Regions from separate parts of the Homo sapiens genome. Here regions 1, 3 and 4 are each linked to region 2. Evidence: promoter capture Hi-C in human tissues and cell types (Jung and others, 2019). All regions are on one chromosome and are shown on one strand. The core of a region is centred on a gene start or on the middle of the fragment in contact, and the rest is flanking DNA. Distances in the headings are between cores, read along the strand shown. Region 1 overlaps GALNTL6 (polypeptide N-acetylgalactosaminyltransferase like 6). Region 2 holds the start of SAP30 (Sin3A associated protein 30). Region 3 overlaps GALNTL6 (polypeptide N-acetylgalactosaminyltransferase like 6). Region 4 has its middle 120 kb from the start of GALNT7.

Region 1 (5,639 bases), core at 299-2,798, 440 kb after region 2:
GTCTTAACAAAACAAAACCAAAACTAAAATACTAGTTCAATAAAATCCTGTTTCCATAGACAACATGTTGGCTTAAGAAAAATTCTAGTAAAATTTTGTTACAAATATTGTATTGAACCCACATTTCATGCTTAGACATCTTATTTATATAGATATTTGTTTCAATAATCTTGTAAAATCATTTGAAGAAATAACATTTGAAATTAAAATGCCAATTTAAAAATTTAACATATAAAAAGTGAAATTTTAAAAATAGGTGAATGCTTTAAAGAACACAAGCATATCATACCTTTTAAGTTGCATTCTGAAACTTGCAACAGTGCTAACCTTAAAAATCAGAGTTGCATTCTCATTTCTCCCCCCGCCACTGATCTTTTTCTTAGGTACAGAAAATAATCAGTTAAGATGCTGTACTTTTTTTTTTTTGAGATGGAGTTTCACTCTTGTTGCCTAGGTTGGAGTGCAATGGTGTGATCTCAGCTCACTGAAACTTCTGCCTCCTGTGTTCAGGCAATTCTCCTGCCTCAGCCTCCCAAGTGGCTGAGATTATAGGTGCCCGCTACCACGCTGAGCTAATTTTTTGTATTTTTAGTAGAGGCGAGGTTTCACCATGTTGGCCAGGCTGGTCTTGAACTCCTGACCTCAGGTGATCCGCCCACCTCGGCCTCCTAAAGTGTTGGGATTACAGGCGTGAGCCACCGCACCTGGCCCTAGATGCTGTACTTTTATATTTAGTAACAAAAGTCATGGTTATATTTTACCATGACAACCTTCTCAGACAGACGCACACTTAATTGTGGTTTTATATAACAGATCTTCTATTATAAAAGAACTAATTATCAAAACATAAATCCAGGCTTCATATAGGCTATAGTCTTAGCTATTTTTATTGTAAGATAAATGATTATAAAAAGAGATACTCTGATGGTTAATTTTATGAATCAACTTGGCTGGACCATGGCGCCCAGATATTTGGTCAAACACTATTCTGGATCTTTCTGTGAAGGTGTTTTTTGCATTCCATTAACATTTGAAATCAGTGGACTTTGAGTAAAGTGAATTACCTTCCATGATGTCGATGGGCCTCATCCAATTGGATGAAGGTGTTAATAGAACAAAGTCTGACCTCTACTGAGCAAGAAGGAATTCTGCCAGCAGAATCCCTGAGTCTCCAGCTTGCCCACCTACTCTGAAGATTGTGGACTTACCAAGCTTCCACAATCGTGTGGACCAATTCCTTAAAATTAATCTCTCTCTTCCCTTGGTTTGGTTTCTCTGGAGACCCCTGAGTAATACAGATACATATCTTGATTTGAAGTGTAATATTGAAAGAGAGAAAGAGAAATGCTTATGTTTTCCTTTATATTTGCTTCCAACTTCTTTCACTAAGAGGAATGTCACCCAAGCGAGAATGGTTGAACAAATGGTGATTAAGGTCAATGGAAGTCCAGGAAGGAATAAGTGCAATTATTAAAGCAACATTCAGTTGCTGTAATTGAGTTCAGGATTACTCATAGTATTAATTTCAACTTGATGGGATATTTAGTAACGATTTGGATCAAGCCTTCAGAAATATGTGTGGGTAATATAAAGCTGGTAAGGGCAGTGGACAGTCTAAACTACATTATCAACATATGGAAAGATCTCCACAGGCTGGAGCTCTATAACATTGAACATAAAAAGGCAACAATAAACACCTGTCCCAGGATCTTAAGAAATCAACTCTTCCACAGCAGGAAGTGTGGAAAAAGACTGAGTAGCACAAAACACACATCATTAACATACTATGGAGAATTTAGGGACCAACGATCTAGATCTATCTGCAGGCCTGAAGTCTTTTGCTAATTTCTGGATAAATGCTTTATATTTCCTTCTAAGGGGAATTTTAAAGTTGAAAAGTGATGTGAACTCTGTCTTAGGAGAGGCAATTGAAAGAACTAAAGATGTGTAGTTCTGATAAGATAAAATTCAGAGATAGCCTTTTCAAAGAACCCAATATTTGGAAGAGATGTTTTGTAGAGCCTTTAGGAGATAGAACCAGGATTAATTGCATATAGCTGTAAGGGGGCAGATTTCAACCTAGTAGGAAGAAATTTCTAATAAAATGATTAAAGATAGAATGGACTTCCTGTATCACTAGATGTGTTGAAATCTGCAGCAGATGACACTGGAGATAAACATATGACTCAAATGGACATTTGATCTAGCTGATAATTTAAGGCAATTCTACAGCACAAGTTAGCATTTATGAATGCTAATTATGCCCTTTTCATTAATTATTTCATGTAATGCTCACAATTCAATGACAGACTTTACTGTTTCCCCAATTATGAAGGTGGGAAAATGGCAGCCTAGAGATGCTAAGTAGCTTGTTCAAAGCCACATAACTGGCCACTTCCAGAACTGAGATTTGAAAACCTAGTAGTCTAACTTCAGTGTCCACGTGTTTAATTGATATTGTATCTATAGATTATGCAAACTCTTTCTGTAAAGGGCCAGAAAATAAATACTTTTGCCTTTGTAGGTCATATGGTATCTTTTGGAACTCCTCAAATCTGCTAACAAATAGGCATGGTGTATTTCAGTTAAACCTTGCTTACCAAAACTGGCAGTGGACTATTGTTTGCTGGCTCTTGTTCTATAAAGAAATTAATCCTTTCAAACACTAACTTTCAGTGATTCTAAGATAATGTATGTGGGAGATTATAGTTTCCAAAATTAGACACCACAATATCTTCCATTGCACATACCCCTCTGCAATGTGACCTCGGTAACCAACTTTCCATTAGGGGATCGGTCTATGTCTCCTCTCTTTGAATTAGGGTGGGCTTATGAATTCTTAGACCAGTAGAGTACAACAGAAGTGGTTGAAGATAGGTCATAAAAGGCCACATAGCCTGTCCTCTGGGGCATTTGTTTTTGAAACTCTGGGCTTCCATGTGAGAAATTTGACTCTCTGAGGCTACTCCATTGTGAAAAAGTCCAAGGACCTGAGATGTCATGCATTGGGTAAATACCTTTACTTGGGGTTTTAACTGATGACCAACATTAGCTGCCAGCACTGTGAATAAAGATGCCTCTACGTGATTCCAGCCCCTTGCTGCTGAATCATCCCCCCGAGACTCCATATATCACAGAGCAGAAACAAACTATCTCCTCTGTGCCTTTTTTTGAATTTGCGGCCCACAAAATCCAAAAGCTTAATAAAACAGTTGCTTTATGGTGCTAAGCTTTGTTATGCAACAGTAGTAATTGGAACTACATATTTCTAAATCCATGATAAAGGTGAATTACTAACACCGATAACCAAAATTTATGGATCACTCATAGATTTCATCTTATTCTATTGTACGGGATACAGAGCTAGGACTCAGCAATTTCCATGCTCACTTCCTCCTGGGCACACAGCCAAGTTATAATTCCCAGCTCCTTTGTATTTAGATGTGACTATGTAATTGTTTCTTGACAGTGAAATGCAAATGGAAGTGATGTGCATCACCTCTGGGCCAAAGAAATTACAAGTGGACTACTTTCTCTACCTTATTTATAATATATTTTTCCCTCAGAGCCTGAGTAATTGCAGAAGATACAGAGGAGGATTCTGAGGCCCTAGCAGATGGTAGAATCATTAAATGGATGGGGACGGGGTTGCTGAAAACTGGGTGAAGCATTGCTCATGCCTCCTCCTCCAAATTGTGAGACAAGCAATAGAAAATTCTTATTAATGTTAAATTACCAAGATTTTGGATTTATTATAGATGTTGTTCCACCCTAATGAACAGTCATTTTTTTCTCAGCCTCTTCTGATATTTTTAATCAAATTTAGTGACTGTAATTATTTGAGAGATTACTTTAATTCTTACTCCTGCATTTTAAAGAGGTAGAATTTAAAAGTAATTAGACAGCAGGTGTTAGGGTGGGAAATGGGAGGGAGGAGAATGCTGGATAGTCCAGTGTATAATCAAATGTCAGTGCTTATTGGTCAAAGATAAGCAAATGTCAAGGCAAAGAAACTTTCTTATCATCTGCAGCTGGGAGATAGGAATTTGTTGGCACAGCCTTTTGTTTTTCACAAAAAAGTGACAATATTGATTAGCTTGTGGAGGTGGCCAATCTTTCCTGCAGGACTAGGAGATGGTGATAAGTGAGGACAAGATGTGGGGTCAAGGTCTGGAACAATGCCTTACATTTTCTGGCCTTAACCTATTCTTCACTTAATGTTATCTTGTAAAATACTTACAAAGTGAGCAGAAGTGAACTAAATGCATCTTAGGAGAGTATTTGCGGAATGAAAAGTGCCGTAATAGAAAGTTCAATAAATCATTATTGCTTTCTGTTATGGATTGAATGTTTGTATCCATCCACCCTATCAAATTCAAATGTTGAAATTTTAATCTCCAATGTGGTGGTATTCAGAGGTAGGGTCCTTGGGAGGTGATTAAGTTATGAGGGTAGAGTTCTCAAGGATAGAATTAGTGAACTAGTAAAAGAGACCCCAGAGAGCTCTCTCATGGTCTTTCCACCATGTGAAGATACAATGAGTAGTTGGCAGTCTGCAACCTGGTAGAGGGCCCTCTCCAGAACCCAACAATGCTGGCACTCTGATATCAGACTTGCAGCATCCAGAACAGTGAGAAATAAATTTCTGTTATTTATAAGCCACTCAGTCTGTAGCACTTTGCTATAGCAGCCCAAATGGGTAAGTAAGACTCTTTCCTTCTTAAGATATAGCAAAACAACCTAATAAACACACAGTAATAAAATTTCAACTAATTATTCTCAGAGGGTCACTCTAACATGGTGTTTACAGATGTACGTGCATAACAGATGACCACATACTTAGTTGTTTAAAACAACATACATTTACTGTATCACAGTTCTGTAGGTCAGGAGTCCATGAGGGCTCAACAAGGTTCTCCATCAAGGGTCTCACAAGGCTGAAGTCTAGGTGTCTGCTGGGTGGAGCTCTTACCTGGAGCCTCAGGGGAAGAATCTGCTTTCAAGTTTACTTAGGTTATTGACAGAATTCAGTTTGCAATTATGGGACTGAGATCCCCATTTTCTTGATGGCTGCTGACTGGGGACCATTCTCAGCTTATCGACACCATTTTTAGTTCCTTGCTTCACAGACCTTCCATCCCAGCAGTGGTTAAACTCATGTGACTAGATGAGGCCTACCTTGATTACCTCCTCTTCTTAAAGTGAACTGATTGATAATTACGTTTGCCAAATCTCTTTTACCATGTAACGTTGACATACTCATGTGAGTAAACCAAGGAAGAGAGTCATCTTAGAGTTCTGTTACTACCATTTCCAAGGACTCAAAATTCATGTCTTCTATCGATAACCTCATCCTGGTTCTTAAAATTCTTCCCCTCAGAAGTTTCTCTGTGTAGTTAAGTCAAATTCAAGAAACTTCTGGGCAGACTTTTTAAATTCTAAATTCAGTGTTGAGAAAACTATAGAATCCTGCGATTTATTTTTTTTTCCTTCTTACGGCCCCATGATCACTTTAAAAAAAAAAAAAAACATAAGCCTGGTGCGGTGGCTCATGCCTGTAATCCCAGCACTTTGGGAGGCCAAGGTGGGTGGATCACGAGGTCAGGAGATTGAGACCATCCTGGCTAACACAGTGAAAC
Region 2 (5,915 bases), core at 272-2,771:
ATTATGCAAGTTCACCTGAAGAGTTTCTCATGGATAACACTGAAAACTGTTTAAACGGGCAAAAAGTGTCACAAATAAACTTTTCAAAAACTTTAATTACATATACTCCTGCGAGCTGTAGACTAGCATTTGAAACAAACACGGACTGAGCTAACAGGCTTTTACATTTACTTCTAAGCCAAGCGCAAGATAAAAATATGCAGGACTTGTGGTAGGTTCTCGATACCATGTTATTCATTTACCGCTAGCCAGATCTCCCAAAAGTAGCAACGGCTGTTTCTAAAAACCTCATAGATGGTCAAACGAAAAGACGTGCAAAAAATCCTGATGGCTGCCAAGGGGATGGCAAAACCGCAGAGGCTACGTGCTCCCCACCATCGGAGTAGCTGCCCTCGGAGCTGACAGCGCAAACGCCGTTTACAACCCCGGCTCACTGCCAGGCGGCGGGTGAGCTCGGCTTCCCTCTCACTCCGCTCCGGAGGAGACGGAACACAGAAAAGAACAGGATCTTCCTTGTTCGTGAAGGTCCTCCGCTTTCTCCTAGACGACGGGATTTAGTACCGCCTGGGGCCAAACACCAGCTTGGGCAGCAAAACAAAGGCGCCTCCATTCCAGAAGAGCTGCCGGGCTGCAAGAAAACTACTCTGGGCCCTCAGTGCGCCGGTCCCCTTTGTTTCGTGTCCCGGTCGCAGAGGAGAAGGAAGAGGGAAGACTGCGCGGGAGAGACGCAGGCAGCGGGAGGTTGGGGGCCAGGGTGGGAAAGAAGAGGGGAACGACAGCCTGTGTGTGGTGTGTGTGTTGGGGTGGCGGTAGGAGTTGCAGCGACTTTGTTATTTGCTTCCAAACACAGACTCCACGAGACCGCACTGCAGCCAGTGCGGTTGTCTGGGGGACCCCGCCGACAACCCGTGCCTTTGCCCGGCTCCTGGGGCCCCACCGAGGGGCGGGAGGGCAGGGCGGTCCCGCGGTTTACTTACGCTCTTATCCAGCTCGATCTTCACCTTCTTCTGGGAGATGCTCTTCTGGATCCTCTTGCTGAAGCTGGCGTTGCCTGCCGCCCGGCCGCACCGCTCACCATCCTCCCGCAGGCAGCACAGTTGCCCGGGGCCCGGCCCGGCCGCCCCCGGGGGCCCAGCCGCTGAGACCGCCCCCGCGCCCGGCACCTCAGCCCCGGTGCCCGCGCCGGTCCCGTTCCCCGCCGAGGCGGCGGCGGCCGCGGCAGCGACCACTGCGGCCACTGCGGCGGCCGCATCCCCGCCGCGGCTCATCTCGTCAGGCGTGAAGCCGTTCATGTCTCCGAGCTCCCGAGGCCGGCGCTGACAGAAATCCCCTCTCTCCTGGCCGCTCCGCCTCTCTCCGCTCCGGCAGCGGCAATTCACTCTGCACACCAAGTTAGACAGCGGCACGGCCAAACACCAACTGTCCCGGGCCTGCTGGTCTCTGCTGGCACCGAAACAGTGGACAGTGCTGAGGGCCGGGACGCAGACTCGAGCGTCTCCTGGAGCGGGGACCCCGCTCACTGTCACATGGGGACTTCAGCAGTTGGACCGCTACGCCTCCGCCTCCCTCCGGCCCCGGGACCTGCGCAAGCGCGACGCGCCCCCTCCCGTCCCGCCCCTTTCTTTCTGCCGCGCGGCCCCATGGGAATTGTAGTTCTCTGCTGCAGAGTCAACCTGAGCTCCGCCCTGACCCCGCGCCATGAGGGACGGAGGAACTACTAATCCTAGCATGCATAGCGCGGCCACGGACCCACTTTTTTTTTTTTTTTTTTTTTTCAGTACCGGGAAAACAGGAGCGTGTGATTGGGGTTTACAGTGTTTTCTCTCGCTCTCTCTGTTTCTAGGGAATTCGGGCTGTGTTTAGCTGCTGGAATATCGTAGAATTGGTTTTCAGAGAAGTTCCTCGACTCCTGAGGCGAAACATAAAGGGATGGGAGTGGTGTGGGAAGTGATCGTGTGGGGAAAAAAAAGTTTCGAGCCCGTTTCGCATTTGTGGAGACAGAGTTTTTGGTGTGACCACTCTTTTGTGGGAAACCCAAACCAAGGAGAACTCAGGAGAATTGGCGCTCTTCGGTCCTGGAGGTTCCGCAGCTAACATCCCGGCTTGACCAACTATCGAGGCCGCAAATTAATAGGGCACCTCCTGGGAGGAAAACGCCCATCCTGACTTCTCAACTGTGACAGGTCCCCCTCACAAACGCCTTGCGGGGGGGTGGGGGGGCGTTTCTAAACACTTGCATGTTCTTACAAGGGAAATGTTTTTATTCTTGGGCGCACCAAGTTGGCCGCCTCCTGAGGTGGAGTACGGACCAGTTGACAACAGGGCTCCTTTTCACCTCCACGCCCAACCTTTTCCATTTCTCCTCAAACGGTTTTGGAGAAGGGCGGAGTCATATCATTTTAAAGGAAACTTGGAACCTCACCAATACAAACGCTGGTCGAATGTTCCCAGAAACTTCCCTGCATTAGCTCTACCGGGCGCGGGGAGCAGAAAGCGCATTTCCTGAGTCCTGAAAAGCGCGTGCGCGCCTGTGTGCTGCCGGCGTTTGGGCGCGCCTGCTTGTATGTATGTGTTCGCGGGCGCGCGCGTGTGTACGTGTGTGTGCGCGCGTACGCGTGTATGTTCCTGCGCGCTTGCGGGGACGTGCTTGTGGAGGGCGGAGAGAGGGATGGGCGTGGCTAATATGAAAGCTGCATCTTTACTAGTTAGCTACCATGCGTCATTATTTATCAAAAGATATATGCTGCTTAAACACAAATACGTTTTAAAATATATTTTAGGCAGTAGGGTTTTGGGTTTTTTTTTTGCAAGTTCTTTTGGTGAGTAAATTTAGTGATAAATGATTTTTTTTTCTTTTGAGACAGTTTGCTCTGTCGCCCAGGATGGAGTGCAGTGCAGTGGCGCGATCCTGCAACCTCCGCCTCTCGAGTTCAAGCGATTCTCCTGCCTCAGCCTCCCGAGTAGCTGGGATTACAGACGCGCGCCACCCCACCCAGATGATCTTTTTAAATGCAAAATGCCATCGACGCAGAAAATCAAAGGTATCCATTGTATCTGTGCGTTTGAGTTCTAGGATATGACAAAGAAAAACAATTTAAATATTACGTAAATTCAGTAGGAAAAAGAAAGATGATGACTGATAAGTACATTGTGTACCTCCTTAAGCTGTGCTGTCCAGTAGGCTGTCCTCTAGCCATATGTGGCTACTCAGCACTTGAAATGTGGTTGAGACGGAAAAACTGAATCGTTAATTGAATTTGAATTAAACAAAAACCAAAAACCTGATGCTCGATTCAATTGTTGGAATACTTTTAAGTGTGTTTGCAACAACTCAGATATATGAATCTGTTTTTCCAACTTAAATTTTATGAACTCTAACTTTAGCATATGAATTGAGATGTGCTGTAAGTATATATCAGCTGGACTTTTTTTTTATTTCTGGACTTACTACAAGAAATTTTCAAAAAGAATATTGAAGTGCACATTAAAAATTTTTATATATGTTTAAATGTTTTGGATGTAATGGGTTAAACAAAATATTACAATAAATTGTACCTGTTGCATTAGATAACACTGGCTTAAAGTATTACAACACAGTAGGGCGTGGTGGCTCACGCCTGTAATCCCAGCACTTTGGGAGGCCGAGGAGGGTGGATCATCTGAAGTCAGGAGTTCGAGACCAGCCTGGCCAACATGGTGAAACTCCGTCTCTATTAAAAATACAAAAATTAGGCAGGCATGGTGACACAAGCCTGGGGTTCCAGCTACTTGGGAGGCTGAGGGAGGAGAATTGCTTGAACCCAGGAGGCAGAGGTTGCAGTGACCTGAGATTGCACCACTGCACTCCAGCCTGAGCAACAGAGCGAGACCCTGTCTCAAAAAAAAAAAAAAATTACAACACAGAATAATTATATATTTATGGATACATGTTATATATTTATGGATACATTTTCTTAAGTGGTAAAAATGAGAATATATGGATGGGATGATACATCCCAACTTCAGGGTGATGCTCATCTCCAACGAAGGAGGCCAAGGAATTTGTATATGGTGTCAGAGTAAACATAAAATATAAAGAGATGAATTTCTAAATTTAATGGTTTTTTGGGGAAGCAAGAATTGCAGTTCAGGACATACACACAGACTGAGTGGTCTTTAGTATGTCAGAAGAACAAAGAGAAGGTCGAGAGTTTTATTAGAAAGAGAAATGTTGCTACTGTTTTGAAAGAAGGTTCATTGGCACTATAGTAAAGTTTTGGGAAGCTGGCAAGCTCTGATTGGTGAGTGAGAGTGGTAGATAAAACCAGTCTTAGTCATAGGAGATTGTTTCAGCAACTACTCGGTAAAACTGGTCTTAGAGTTACTGCAGGCCGTTTCAGCAGCTGGGTTGTAAAAAACTTAATTCTTAATGCTAGAGCTGTGTGCCCTGATTGCTTTCTCCCCTGGTCCCTCGATTCTGATTTAGTTGGGTATGACAAGAATGATCCAGATTGTATGATCAATTTTCACACTGGGAATGGCTTAAAGATGGTTTCTTCTGAATTTTAAAGTTTTTATTTATTAAAAATATCTGAAACATGACAGTGGGATGTTGAATTTTCATATTTTTCTTTGTACATTTATGTGTTTTTAAAATAGTTCATGAAATTCATATTGTTTGGTTCTTGTGCTTAAAAAAGCTTATATCTTCTGCAAAATGTGACCAAATCATGTAAATTCAGTAGGAAAAAGAAAGATGCTTACTGATAAGTACTTTGTGAATCTCCTTAAGCTGTGCATGTATGTATATGTATAGTTATCAGTTTCATATGAAGCTTACTCAAGTAAAGAACTGTAGCTATGGCTCCTTTACACACAATACAATGGTTGTAAAAAGATCCTATTAAACAGTCACTTGTTGCATGCTAGAATCTTTTTCTAGGCCCTGGAGGCACAAAAATAATTGAGAGGGTCCTAGCTATTTGGGAGCTTCTTGTCTAGTAGGGCAGACAGGTAGCTTAACAAGCACATAATACAAACCTCAATAACAATAGAGAGAAAGTACAGGCATAGCACATAGGAGGAAATGATTCATTTCTGGCAAGTTGAAAAGATTGCTGGAGTAGGGGACATGTTAATTCTCACTGCCAGATTTAAAGTGTATCTTGAGTGAATCTATTTGTTTAGATACATTTTTACAACCATGTTTTGTTACTTATTTCTACAAATCTTCATATTTAGGGCAGGTATAAGAACTCTTTGATTTGAGTGTAACTCACAGTCAAGGTTGGAATCAGGTTTTAGGGGGGCTTCAAGATTATATAATCTGAAAGGTCTTTTTAAAGAAGTATGTAAAATTATGAATGCAAAATTAAAATTAGGTACAGGACTTCATAAGGGTCTATCCAAGTGAGGGACTCTGAAGTTTGAATCCTTTAGCTTCACAGTAAATCTACCTCAGAGTAGACTAGGTAAAAAATATAGATCTATGAAACCTTAATTATAGGGGGGTTGTTCATATCAACAAAAATGCTCTTTGCTTTCTAAAATGGTTCAAAATATGATTCTTAAAAAAGTATGTATCCGTGCCTGTCTTCCCTATAGGCTTTTAACATGATTGCATTTTTCTGGCTTTACTTTAAAATAAGCAACTAAATAATTTTATTTAATTTACAAAAACATATAAATTGGCCAATAATCCCAACATGACCACAGTAGAAAATTCAAATAATACAAAAAGGTTCATATGAAAAACAAAAGCCTGTTTTACCTCATCTCCTCAAATCCCTGTCCCTTGAAGCAACCAGTGTTAACAGATTATTGTTTCCTTCTAGAAAAAAGTATGCATTTACTAGTATATACATCTCTATATGTGAATAATTCTATATTTTACAGCAAAAGTTCATTCCGTTTTACACCACCTTTCCTTTATCTAG
Region 3 (5,305 bases), core at 799-3,298, 390 kb after region 2:
TACTTGCCTGGTTTATTTTTTAGAGCCTGGCCTTAAGCACTTTATTCAAGGCCATCAGTATTATTTTATGTAAGTGATTAACATTTTTGGGGGGTACAGGTTCTTTTTTGTTAGGGTTAACACAGCATAATCTTCTAATAGCATAAATTCCCATTAGTATCCACTGTTGCATAAAAAATGTTCATTATTATAGTAATTAGAAATGTTAATTTCCTAGAGCAATTATAACTTCCTTTACATGGCAGTGTTTTTGAAAGAATTTTATTAATTTATTATTTTTATTAATTTCAATTTTAATTTTAGATTCAGTGGGTGCATGTGCAGGTTTCTTATAAGAGGATACTGCATGATACTGAGGTTTGGGCTTCTACTGATCCTGTCACCCAGACAGTGAACACAGTTCCCAGTAGGAAGTTTCCCAGGCTTTGCCGTCCTCGCCCCCTCCCTCCTTTCGGAGTCCCCAGTGTCTATTGTTTCCACACAGACTCTTTTTGAGAATCTGATGAAAGTTATGAACTCTCCAGAAGAAATGTACACTGCTATGGTTTGGCTCTGTGCTCCCCGCCCCCCAAAATATCACCTTGAATTGATTGTAATAATCCCCACATGTCAAGGGCAGGACCAGGTGGAGATAATGGAATCATGGGGGCGGTTTCCCCCAGGCTGTTCTTGTTATAGTGAGTGAGTTCTCCTGAGATCTGATGGTTTTATAAGGGGCTTCCTTCTTTGCTCAGCACTTATTCTCTCTCCTGCTGCCCTGTGAAGAGCTGCTTTCAGCCATGATTGTAAGTTTTCTGAGGCCTCTCCAGTCATGTGGAACTGTAAGTCCATTAAAGCTCTTTCCTTATAAATTACCCAGTCTAGTATGTCTGTATTAGCAATCTGAGAACGGACGAATACATACGCATATACAGACACAACAGTTGGCACACAAAGTATTTTTGCTTTCTATATCTGGTGGCCTAAGAACATTTTCATATGTTTGTTACATATATAGTTTTCTCCCCATCTCCCATTGCACAAACACATGGGAGCTTGATACTTATTTTTTGGAATGCAGAATGTGATATTTTGCCTATACCCCATGGACTTCAGTAAGCAAGAAAATGACTGTAGTTTTTAACCTTAAAAAAAAAAAAATCAACCGGGAGATGTCTCAGGCAAAAACAATGATTTTCCTGGACCTCTGGTTCTTATAAGCTTCGGCATTGTGTTGCCTCACTCCTCCATTTGTAATGCTAATCAGGGTTTTATTGAGAGTTTGCAGCGGTAGGCCCTATGCTACTTGCTTTCCATGATAATTTTATTTAACCATCACAACAACTCTAGAAGTAGGTACTATTATTATTCATATATATATATTTTTTTGAGACAGAGTTTTGCACTTGTTGTCCAGGCTGGAGTGCAATGGTGCAGTCTTGACTCACTGCAACCTCTGCCTCCTAGGTTCAAGTGACTCTCCTGCCTCAGCCTCCAGAGTAGCTGGTATTACAGGCATGTGCCACCACGCCCGGCTACTTTTTGTATTATTTGTAGAGACAAGGTTTCACCATGTTGGCCAGGCTGGTCTCAAACTCCTGACCTCAAATGATCTGCCTGCCTTGGCCTCCCAAAGTGCTGGGATTACAGGTGTGAGCCACCGCACCTGTCCATTATTCATATTTTGAATGAGGAAACAAGGTGTCTTAGTTTCCTGTGGCTGCTGGAACAAATGATCACAAACTTGGTGGCTGGAAATTATTATCTCACAGTTTTGGAGGCCAGAAGTCTGAAATCAAGCTGTCGGCAGGGCTGTGCTTCCTCCAGAAGCTCTAGGGGAGATTACGTTCTTTGCCTCTGGTGGCTGCCAGCATTCCTTGGCTTGTGGTGGCTTATGCAATCTCTGCCTTCCCTGAATGTCTCTTGCAAGGACTCTTTTTTTAAAAAAATGTATAAATTTATGGAGTGCATGTGCAATTTTGTTACATGCGTAGAATGTGTAGTGGTCAAGTCAGGGCTTTTAGGGAATCCATTGCCCAGATGAAGTACATTATACCCATTAACTAATTTCTCATCATCCACCTCCCTCCCACCCATTCACCCTTCTGAGTCTCCATTGTCTATTATTGCACTCTCTATATCCATATGTATACATTTTTTAGCACCTACTTATGAGTGAGAACATGTGATAGTTGACCCTCTGTGCCTGGCTACTTACAAAGACTCTTTTCATTGGATTTATACCTCATCTAGAAAATCTAGGATGATCTCATCTCAGATAAATATTTTTTGGAAAAAAAATTTTTTTCGTATTATCTTTTCATTCCATCTAAAAATATCTTATCTTTTTTTTTCCAGAAAAAGTCACATTCACATGTTCTTGAAATTAGGATTTGACATATCTTTTTGTGGGCTGCCATTCAACCTGCTAGACAATACATAGGTAATTTATAGTGAGTCAGTAGTAAACCTGGGATTCCAACCCCTTGTCTTGGGGCCTCAAGAGCTTGTGAAAGCCCCACACTAATTGTAGACTTCAGCATCTCTTCTGACTTTCAGTCATGAGGACCATTGTCTTATGTATAGACTGGCTGCTGGCTAACATGTCAGGGCCTGTTTTGATAGCAGTCTCAATTCTAGAGGAAATGTGAAGCTGACTCACACAAATAAACAAAGAAGCTTAGCCAGGGACAATAAAGCCAAAAATCACGTTAAGGGCACAGTTCCTCCCTCTAGTTTAGCTCCTTGGCTTTATTCTGGTGTGAGATGTCCCGTGGTGATTGAGTCATGGAGAGAGCAGAGGGAGGGCTCTGAGGAACCTGGGAAGCCTGCTGAGCTGCATTTGGGACCTGCCTGGGCAGAAGGGCAGTGAGCTTGTGGAAACATTTGGCTAAAATATTATTCATGCAGAAAGAAATTGAAGAAGGCATAAGTAGATGGAAAGATGTCTGTGTTCTTGGATCAAAAGACTTAATATTGTTAAGATGTTTGGCCGGGTGCGGTGGTTCATGCCTGTAATTCTAGTACTTTGGGAGGCCGAGGCAGGCAGATCACCTGAGGTCAGGAGTTCAAGACCAGTCTGACCAACATGGAGAAACCCCGTCTCTACTAAAAATACAAAATTAGCCAGGGTGGTGGCGCATGCCTGTAATCCCAGCTACTTGGGTGGCTGAGGCAGGAGAATCGCTTGAACCTGGGAGGCAGAGGTTGCGGTGAGCTATCACACTGCACTCCAGCCTGGGCAACAAGAGCGAAACTCCATCTAAAAAAAAAAAAAAAAAAAAAAAAGACGTTCATACTACTCAAAGCATTCTATAGATTTAATGCAAGTCCTATCAATATCTCAATGTTTTTTTAAGAAATATAAAAATTTATCCTTAAATTCCTATGGAATCTCAAGGGACCCAAAATAGCCAAAACAATCTTGAAAAGGAAGAACAAAGTCGAAAGGTTCACACTTCATGATTTCTAAGCTTACTATAGTGCTACAGTAATTAAAGCAGTATGGTACTTGCATAAAGACAGACATATAGACCAATAGAAACAGGCAAAAGATGTTTTAGACATCTCTCCAAAGAAGAAATACAAATGTTCAATAAATACATGAAAAGGTGTTTAACATCATTAGTCATTAGGGAAATGCAAATTAACACCACAGTGACATATCACTTCACATTCATTAGGATGGCTGTTAAAAAAACCCAGCAACAGTGGAAAACTACAAGTGTTGGCAAGTATGTGGAGAAATTGGAACCCTCGTGCACTGTTGGTAGGAATGCCAAATGGGGTAGCTGCTATGGAAGAAAAGTTTAACGTTTCCTCAAAAAAGTTAAACCCAGAATTACCATATGATGCAGCAATTCCACTACTAGGTGTATACCCAAAAGAATTGATAGCAAGGGCTTGAACAGATATTTATATGCCTATGTACACAGCAGCATTATTAAGCATAGCCTAAAGGTGGAAACAACCCAAGTGTCCATTGACAGATGGATGCATAAAGAAAATGTGGTATATACATTCAATGGAGTATTATTCAGCCTTAAAAAGAAACCAAGTTCTGATACATACAACGACATGGATGTTGTATGAAGACATTATGCTAAGCGAAATAAGCCAGTCTCTAAAGGAAATATATTGTGTGATTCTACTTATGTGAGGTACCTGAAACAGTCAAATTGATAGAAACAAAAGTAGAATGGAAGTTACTAGGAACTGGGGGAGAGTGAATAGGAAGTTATTGTTTAATGGTGTAATGGACTGAATTGTGCCCCTCTCTCCCCCCTGCCAGTTTATATGTTGAAGCCCTAACCGTCAATGTAAGTGTATTTGAAGATACGGCTTTTAGGAGGTAATTAAGCTAAATGAGGTCATAAGGATGGAGTCCTAATCTGATAAAACTGGCTTAACAACAAGAGGAAGGAAGAGGGGTCTTTTCCCCTCGCCCGCCAAACCCAGCATATGCACAACCATATGAACACACAGAGAGGAGGTGGCTATCTCCAAGGTGGGAAGACAGCCCTCGCGAGAACCTGACCTGACCATGCTAGCATCCTGATCTCAGAATTCCAGCCTCCAGGAGCAGTGACACAATAAATGTATGTTGTTTACGAGCCACCTACTATGTGGCACTGTGTTATAGCAGCCAGAGGTGACTAATAAAGATGGCTCTAGAGTTTCAGGCTGTGATGATAAAAAAAATTCTGGTGATGGATAGTGGTGCTGGTTGCACAACAATGTGAATGCATGCTAATGTCACTGTACTGGTATGCCACTGATTAAAATGGCAAATTTAAAGTTAGGTCTATATATAATACAAAAGTATCATACAGTGCCTATTTGGTAGTGATTGGGACAGTTGCTTTTGCTTTGTGTAAATCTGTGCAAGAGAAGAAACCAAGTTGTAGAGTCTGATGGGGACTAGCAGATCACATAAGGCAGGACCTAATTCCTTTTCTGTGAGGTGAAAGAAGTGGAGATGTAGTCAATACGGCCTCTGTGTAAACACAATTTTCTCAGTATATTTAGAGCTGACTCTATCTCACACCGATGAGGTGTTTCACCCTCATTTTATGCACAAGGAGAAAAGCTACAAAGACATATAGCATTATCTGTTTTTCCACGATGGTGCATAATTGTCTTAGGAGAGATAACAACTGGAAATTCCCAAAAGGACAGGGATTACTTCAAATTGCGGGGAGGACATTAGAAAGTGGTAAGCATTCTTGTTTTTATTTTACCCCTCTATTCCTGCTTCATCTGAGATTGTCCCTTTCAATGCATGCTGTCTTCTTGAGAAACTAACCAAGATTGGTTTTTCAAAGTG
Region 4 (5,989 bases), core at 1,813-4,312, 320 kb after region 2:
CAAAACCACACTATAAATTCCATAACAAACAATTTTCTGGGTGGTAGAGATTTGAATAGCAAACATCAGTAAAGTGAAACACCCTTTCCCATACATTCTCTTTCATGCATCCTTAGTATACACAAAAATAACAGAAAAATATTTGGAAAAAAATAATGTGGAGGATTTACTGTGTGTGCCATTAGAGGCTGAAATTTAAATAAACTGAAAAGAAAAAAATTAAATTACCTTTTGTTTCTGAAGACAGAGGATGAGGTAGAAATGACCATTAAAGAAGGTCTTAGTGTTTATTTTCAATGAAAAGAAAGTTACAAATCTGAGAGAACCACAGTTAAAACAGCAGAAATTCTAAGCTTTTCCTTACCTTCTGCAACTTTTTTCTAACAAAGTTAGTGAACTGAGTTGAGCATAGTGAGATATTGTTACACTTAAAAGACTTTTAATTAAACTTGTAGCATTTTTTCAAAGATGGGGGGAACCATAGCTCAACTGTATTTACACAATGTATTTGAAATTATCTTGGCTGGTTATTTGCCATCAGAAATTAATGTTTCCTTTCCCAAGACAAAACTTGAGAAAAAGCATGGTTTGGGGGCAGAAGGACTAATACACTGAAAAACAATATTGAGTAAATCAGTTCACCATGCTATGCCTTCTTTTGATTTTCAGTTCTATTCTACAGTAGAATGAAGTTCACTAGGAATTTAGAGAAAGGGACAATAATATCAGATTATTAATGTGAGACTCAATACCAGGCACTTCAAGTAGGGGTCTTGATGTATTTGTTATACTTTAATTGAGAAATTTAAGTGATTGAAAAGATATTTACTGTGATACCATAATACTGCCTATTCTTGGTCTTCAAATTCTGTGATCCTGCTTTAAAGAATTTATAGGAGAAACTTTCTTCCAGCTATAAATATTTATTGGATTAAATTAACGCTTGTTTGAATTTTGAGTGTGTTGGGGTTTTATCATTTCCAATAGATGCCTCTTAAATATAACTAAGGCTTTCTAAACACATGTAACATTAACAAAATTATCTTTAAGAAGATATTTTCGAAGTGGTGAGACCATTGGTCTGAACCAATAGCTTTCAAAATGTGGACTCCAAATGTGGTCCAAATGTGGACCATCGGCATCAGCATCATCTAGCAACATGTTGGAAATGTAAATTCTTGAGCCTCATTTCCATCACTAAGGGGTGGCCCAGCAATCTGTGTTTTAACATTACCTCCAGGTGTTTAAACACTAAGGTTCAATGATCACTGACCTAACAAAAGCCAGAGGATTTTTGAAATAAAATGTTCTTAGGCATGTTTCTCTCAATGCAAATTTATAATAGCTTCGGATTACAACTGATCATTCTTCCAGACATCTGCAGTGTTTATTTGTGAACAACCATGTCAGAGAATTAACTTGGATTTGCTAGTGGTAGGAAATTAGGAACTGGGGCACAAAGCAATTATTTATCTCTTTGATAATAGAATTTTCTGTATCTAGTGGCCTAACCCAGAAATTCTGATATAGTAGATTTGGGGTAAGACCTGGTGCTATATTCTAAATGTTTGTGTCCCTACCCCCCAAATTTATATATTGAAATCCTGACCTCCACAGTGATGGTATTAGGAGGGAGACCTTTTAGGAAGTGATGAGGTCATGAAGGCAGAGCTTTCATAATTGGGATTAGTGCCCTTAAGAAAGAGGCCCCTGAGAGCTCCCTTGCCCCTTTCACTATGTGAGGCCACAGTGAGAAGATGTGATCTTTATTTAAACCAGAAACTGGGGCCTCAGCAGACACTGAATCTGCCTGCTCCTCCATCTTGGACTTCCCAGCCTCCAGAACTGTAAGAAATACATTCCTATTATCTGTAAGTTACCCAGTGTATGATATTTTGTTAAAGCAGCCCAAACGGACCAAAATGCCTAGTAATACACATGTTTAACTTGTACCCTCAGAAGAGAAAAACTGCCAGAGAGAATTCACATCAGTGCAGACCGAGAGTCTCAGATGGCTAAGAGATGTGCCTGACAACTTTTCAGAAATAAGACTATTAAAAGAAGGTCAGCTTGGAGTCTTACTGCGAAGTGAGTGCAAATTCTTTGCTTAATGACTGTTTTCCTCTCCCTGAGGACTGAACCCATTGATAATTACCAAGAACACAGTATTTGCTTTTGGATTTGTCATCTAGAGCTATGCAAATAGCTTTAATAGATCACTTCTTTTCTTAAAAGTACCTTAGAAATCTCATTAAGAAGGACTAATCCTGGATTCAGTTCTTACTTTAATAAGCTTGTGGGAAAATCAACAAAAACACACAGGTACAGAGAAGAACAAACATAATTAAGGGGTTAAAAACAGAAGTCCCTAAGGAATGAGTGATCTTGCTATTTTGAGGTACCTCCATACAACTCATATGGGCTTTGCTCTGGGTGAATGACCCTGTAGTGAGGTATAAACTACCATGGAGAATGGAAGGAACAGAGGTCTACATATTAGAAGGCCTGAATCTATCTAGTCCTGATTCTGCTGTTAACTTGCTAGCCCCTTGCAAGCCCCTTAACTCTGAGTCCTTCAGTTTTTTTCATGAGGATTATAATATTATCTACACCAGAGATTGTTATAAGTGTGGAGTGAGATAATACATATAAAATTGCTTAGAAAAACAAAAGCAATAATGCAAATAGCATGTCCACCCATCATCTATCTACCATCTATCTATCTATCTATCTATCTATCATCTATCTATCTACACCTTACCATAATATTGAGAATTAATAGTGTGGTTAATAGGCCATGTTGGCGATCTACTGTTTTGAGCTTGAAAAAATATAAAATGACTGCATTGATTTCAAATAAATTTTTTAAATTATGAAAAAATCATTTAAATTAGACTTCATTCAGCAAAGAGATTTAGGTGGATATAGAACTCTTGATTACAAAGCTTTCATTAAGTAACTTGTAAAGACCCGTGTGAATGCAATACACAGTCATCAAGAAGCTGATTTTGGTCTGGTCCTGTTTGAAGGGAAGGAATAAGTCGAGTTGATTTCTTGTAGACTGTAAGCCTTAATAAGCAAAATACATTTTCTTTCCTACAGGAATTATAAACAGGCACGTGGATTATAAATAGGGTGAGTATTTAATTCGTTACTGAAACTAGAACACTTTTAAGAGTAAAAGGGGCCAGGCATGGTGGTGCGCACCTGTAACCCCAGCACTTTGGGAAGCCAAGGCGAGAAGATCACCCGAGCCCTGGAGTTTGAGGTTGCAGTGAACTAAGATTGCACCACTGCACTCCAGCCTGGGCGACAGAGCAAGACCCTGTCTCTAAAAAATAAAAACAGGCTGGCATGCAGTGACTCAGGTCTGTAATCCCAGCACTTTGGGAGGCCAAGGTAGGTGGATCACTTGGGGTCAGGAATTCGAGACTAGCCTGGTCAACATGGTGAGACCATGTCTCTACTAAAAATATAAAAATTAGTGAAGTGTGGTGGCACATGCCTGTAATTCCAGCTACTCGGGAGGCTGAGGCACAAGAATTGCTTGAACCTGGGAGGCAGAGGCTGCAGTCAGCCAAGATTGCACCACTTCTCTCCAGCCTGCGTGACAGAGCAAGACTCCCTCTCAAAAATAATAAAAGTAAAAATTTAAAAAAACAGTAAAAGGGGCATTATTAAAAATCACACAGGACAAAAATCATACGCATAAAGTAACATAGGTAAACCCAGCACCTAAGCTGTTTAGTTATGAATAGCCCCCTCAAGGTGAGTAAAGTCAGAATAAACTCATCGACAAAAAGATTCTGAAATATAACCAGCCTTTCTGTACTGAGGTCAGTTGGAGAACCACGTTGAAATGAGCAAAGAAGGACAGCAGAGGCCTGTGGAAAGCCCAGGAAGCTATTGTGCTTTGGGAAGAAGCAGGCAACTTCAGGCAGCAGGGATGGAAGAAATGTTTCCAGGTTTCTCTGAAGTGAAGCATCAAACATGTGCCTGAGCTGTTGTCTGCCAAGAGGCTGCAGTACCAGACACACCAGTCTGGTATGTCAAGCTCAGAGATGAGTGACTATGAATAAAAGCTTCAGGTCAATGTCAAGTCTACCAAATAGAGTTGCAAACAGCTCCCAGTTCTGCAAGCAAAGGCTATAGACATAAATCAAAGAGCAATCTTCCAATGTCGGCAGTGTGGGAAAGACTGGCCACTTGTCACGCTTCAGTGTCCTCGGCCACCGTTTCACACATGGAGAGTAATTACAGTTGGTGGTGTCATCTGAGAGGAATGATGGCAGGAGCAGGACTGGTCGATGAGGTGAAGGGAGAGAATGAAGCATGCCCCATGTTGAGAGATACAATTTACTTATCTCCATTTATATGTACTCCCAGAATCATAGGGAATCACTTAAAAATATTTTCCCTTTGAGGCATTCTTTCTCATGATTTATAAGAAATGCTTTATTTCCAGCATATCTCCAGCATGTGTTTATGGAAGCGCGTTGCAGCCTCATAATCCTGCCAGGGTAACAAGCCTAAAGACATTTTACTAAATGAGTTTTTAGGGATAAATCAATGTTCACAATGTCATATTGTTAGGATGATTCTAAATTCTGAAAAAATATAACCTAGCACTCTTCTTCAGGGGAGGGTCAGGTGAACTGCCTAGTTCTGGGGGAGATTCTGCAGTAAGACAAGAAGTCAAAGGCACATCTGGCATAGCCTTATCATCAACTTTCTTCTGAGTCCTTAGGTGTGTGATATCCTGGGCCAAGAATGTCCCACAGTGGCAGGTGTGGCCCTCTATGACTGCTGGATAGCCAGCTTTGTAATCAAAGTGTGATTGAATTTTTTTTTTTTTTTTTAAAGACAGGATCTCACTGTCACCTAGGCTGGAGTGCAGTGGTGCGATCATGGCTCACTGCAGCCTCAACCTCCTGGGCTCAAGTGATCCTCCCGCCTCAGCCTCCCCAGTAGCTGGGATTATAGGCATGTGTTATGACACCCAGCTAATTTTTTTTATTTTTTGTAGAGGCGAGGTTTCATTATGTTGCCCAGGCTGATCTTGAACTCCTGGGCTCAAGTGATCCTCCCACCTTGGCTTCCCACAGTGCTGGGATTATAGGTGTGAGCCACTGCGCCTGGGGCGCTAACTCTTTTGATAGGTCAGCCATAAACTTCATAGAGCTTATTTTTCCAAGAAAGCATTCTTTTTTACTATTTCCTTATGGAGATATTTATAAAAAGATAGAAATAAAAGTTTTTCATCTGAGAGGAAGAAGCACAAAATATTAATAGGTATTTACTTATTTATATTTGGCTTCTTTTAAAACATTGCTCCTAAAGGAAATGATGTCAAGTGTTGGCATGGGTTTCATGTTTTCCAAGAAACATGAGAAGAACGGGCCTAACACACTCTTTCATTGCTTGTAGGTCCATTTTCATTTTCTGTTATTCATTTATTGCATAAAGTTTTAGGTTATCAATTCATAAAGCAATTCTGGAACTTGCATTACTCCCTGAAGCTTCTGATATAGTGAATACTTTTAAAAACAGTTATGTGATCATATTAATGTTTTTAAGTAAATACCAGTGGACATAGAAGCCAATACATTGCTATTGCCAGGGTATTAATCCAGCCTTGAAAAAAGTGTAAGTCCTATGTTTAGTTCATGATTGCTTTAAAGCACAGCTTTTTCTTTGTAAATACATAAAAAAGATTTTAAAAATTAATTATTCTGGCAAAACCATGTCTTATGATGGAGAAGTAGCAATTTCCAAGGCCAGATTATGATTTTTCCTCCCATTCTGATAAAAGGGTAGGTCAGTACTCTACTGTCCAATTTATTTTTATTTATTATTATTATTTTTTTGAGACAGAGTCTTGCTCTGTCGCCAGGCTGGAATGCAGTGGCACGATCTCGGCTCACTGCAACCTCTGCCTCCTGGGTTCAAATGATTCTCCTGCTTCAGCCTCCCTAGTAGCTGGGACTAC

Evidence for each region. Contacts are between HindIII fragments. The study calls those that stand out against the background at their distance.
Region 1: a fragment that was not itself captured here is called in contact with the fragment with the promoter of SAP30 in region 2 in 1 of the 25 tissues and cell types used here (lymphoblastoid cells).
Region 3: a contact is called between a fragment that was not itself captured here and the fragment with the promoter of SAP30 in region 2, in 2 of the 25 tissues and cell types used here (mesendoderm cells and thymus).
Region 4: a contact is called between a fragment that was not itself captured here and the fragment with the promoter of SAP30 in region 2, in 1 of the 25 tissues and cell types used here (lymphoblastoid cells).

Annotation. Positions count from the first base shown.
Region 1 is chr4:172,925,066-172,930,704 of GRCh38, reverse strand. All of the region lies in intron 8 of GALNTL6 (polypeptide N-acetylgalactosaminyltransferase like 6), which reads right to left. Among named protein-coding and RNA genes, the nearest start is that of GALNTL6-AS1, 200 kb to the right of the region's middle. The HindIII fragment of the contact is 3,335 bases long and covers 1-3,215 here.
Region 2 is chr4:173,366,560-173,372,474 of GRCh38, reverse strand. SAP30 (Sin3A associated protein 30) reads right to left here and starts at 1,521. Exons shown (of 4, transcript NM_003864.4): 1 at 978-1,521. The coding sequence starts at 1,292. It overlaps SAP30-DT (SAP30 divergent transcript), which reads left to right and starts at 1,777. Exons shown (of 4, transcript NR_183973.1): 1 at 1,777-2,183; 2 at 2,865-3,041. RefSeq lists enhancers at 411-710, 414-977, 2,061-2,300, 4,766-4,835 and silencers at 831-1,210, 1,491-1,660. The HindIII fragment of the contact is 15,433 bases long and covers 1-5,915 here.
Region 3 is chr4:172,979,759-172,985,063 of GRCh38, reverse strand. The region is part of intron 10 of GALNTL6 (polypeptide N-acetylgalactosaminyltransferase like 6); the gene reads right to left. Among named protein-coding and RNA genes, the nearest start is that of GALNT7, 190 kb to the left of the region's middle. RefSeq lists an enhancer at 2,452-2,711. The HindIII fragment of the contact is 4,686 bases long and covers 1-4,391 here.
Region 4 is chr4:173,045,154-173,051,142 of GRCh38, reverse strand. No RefSeq gene overlaps it. Among named protein-coding and RNA genes, the nearest start is that of GALNT7, 120 kb to the left of the region's middle. The HindIII fragment of the contact is 3,478 bases long and covers 1,324-4,801 here.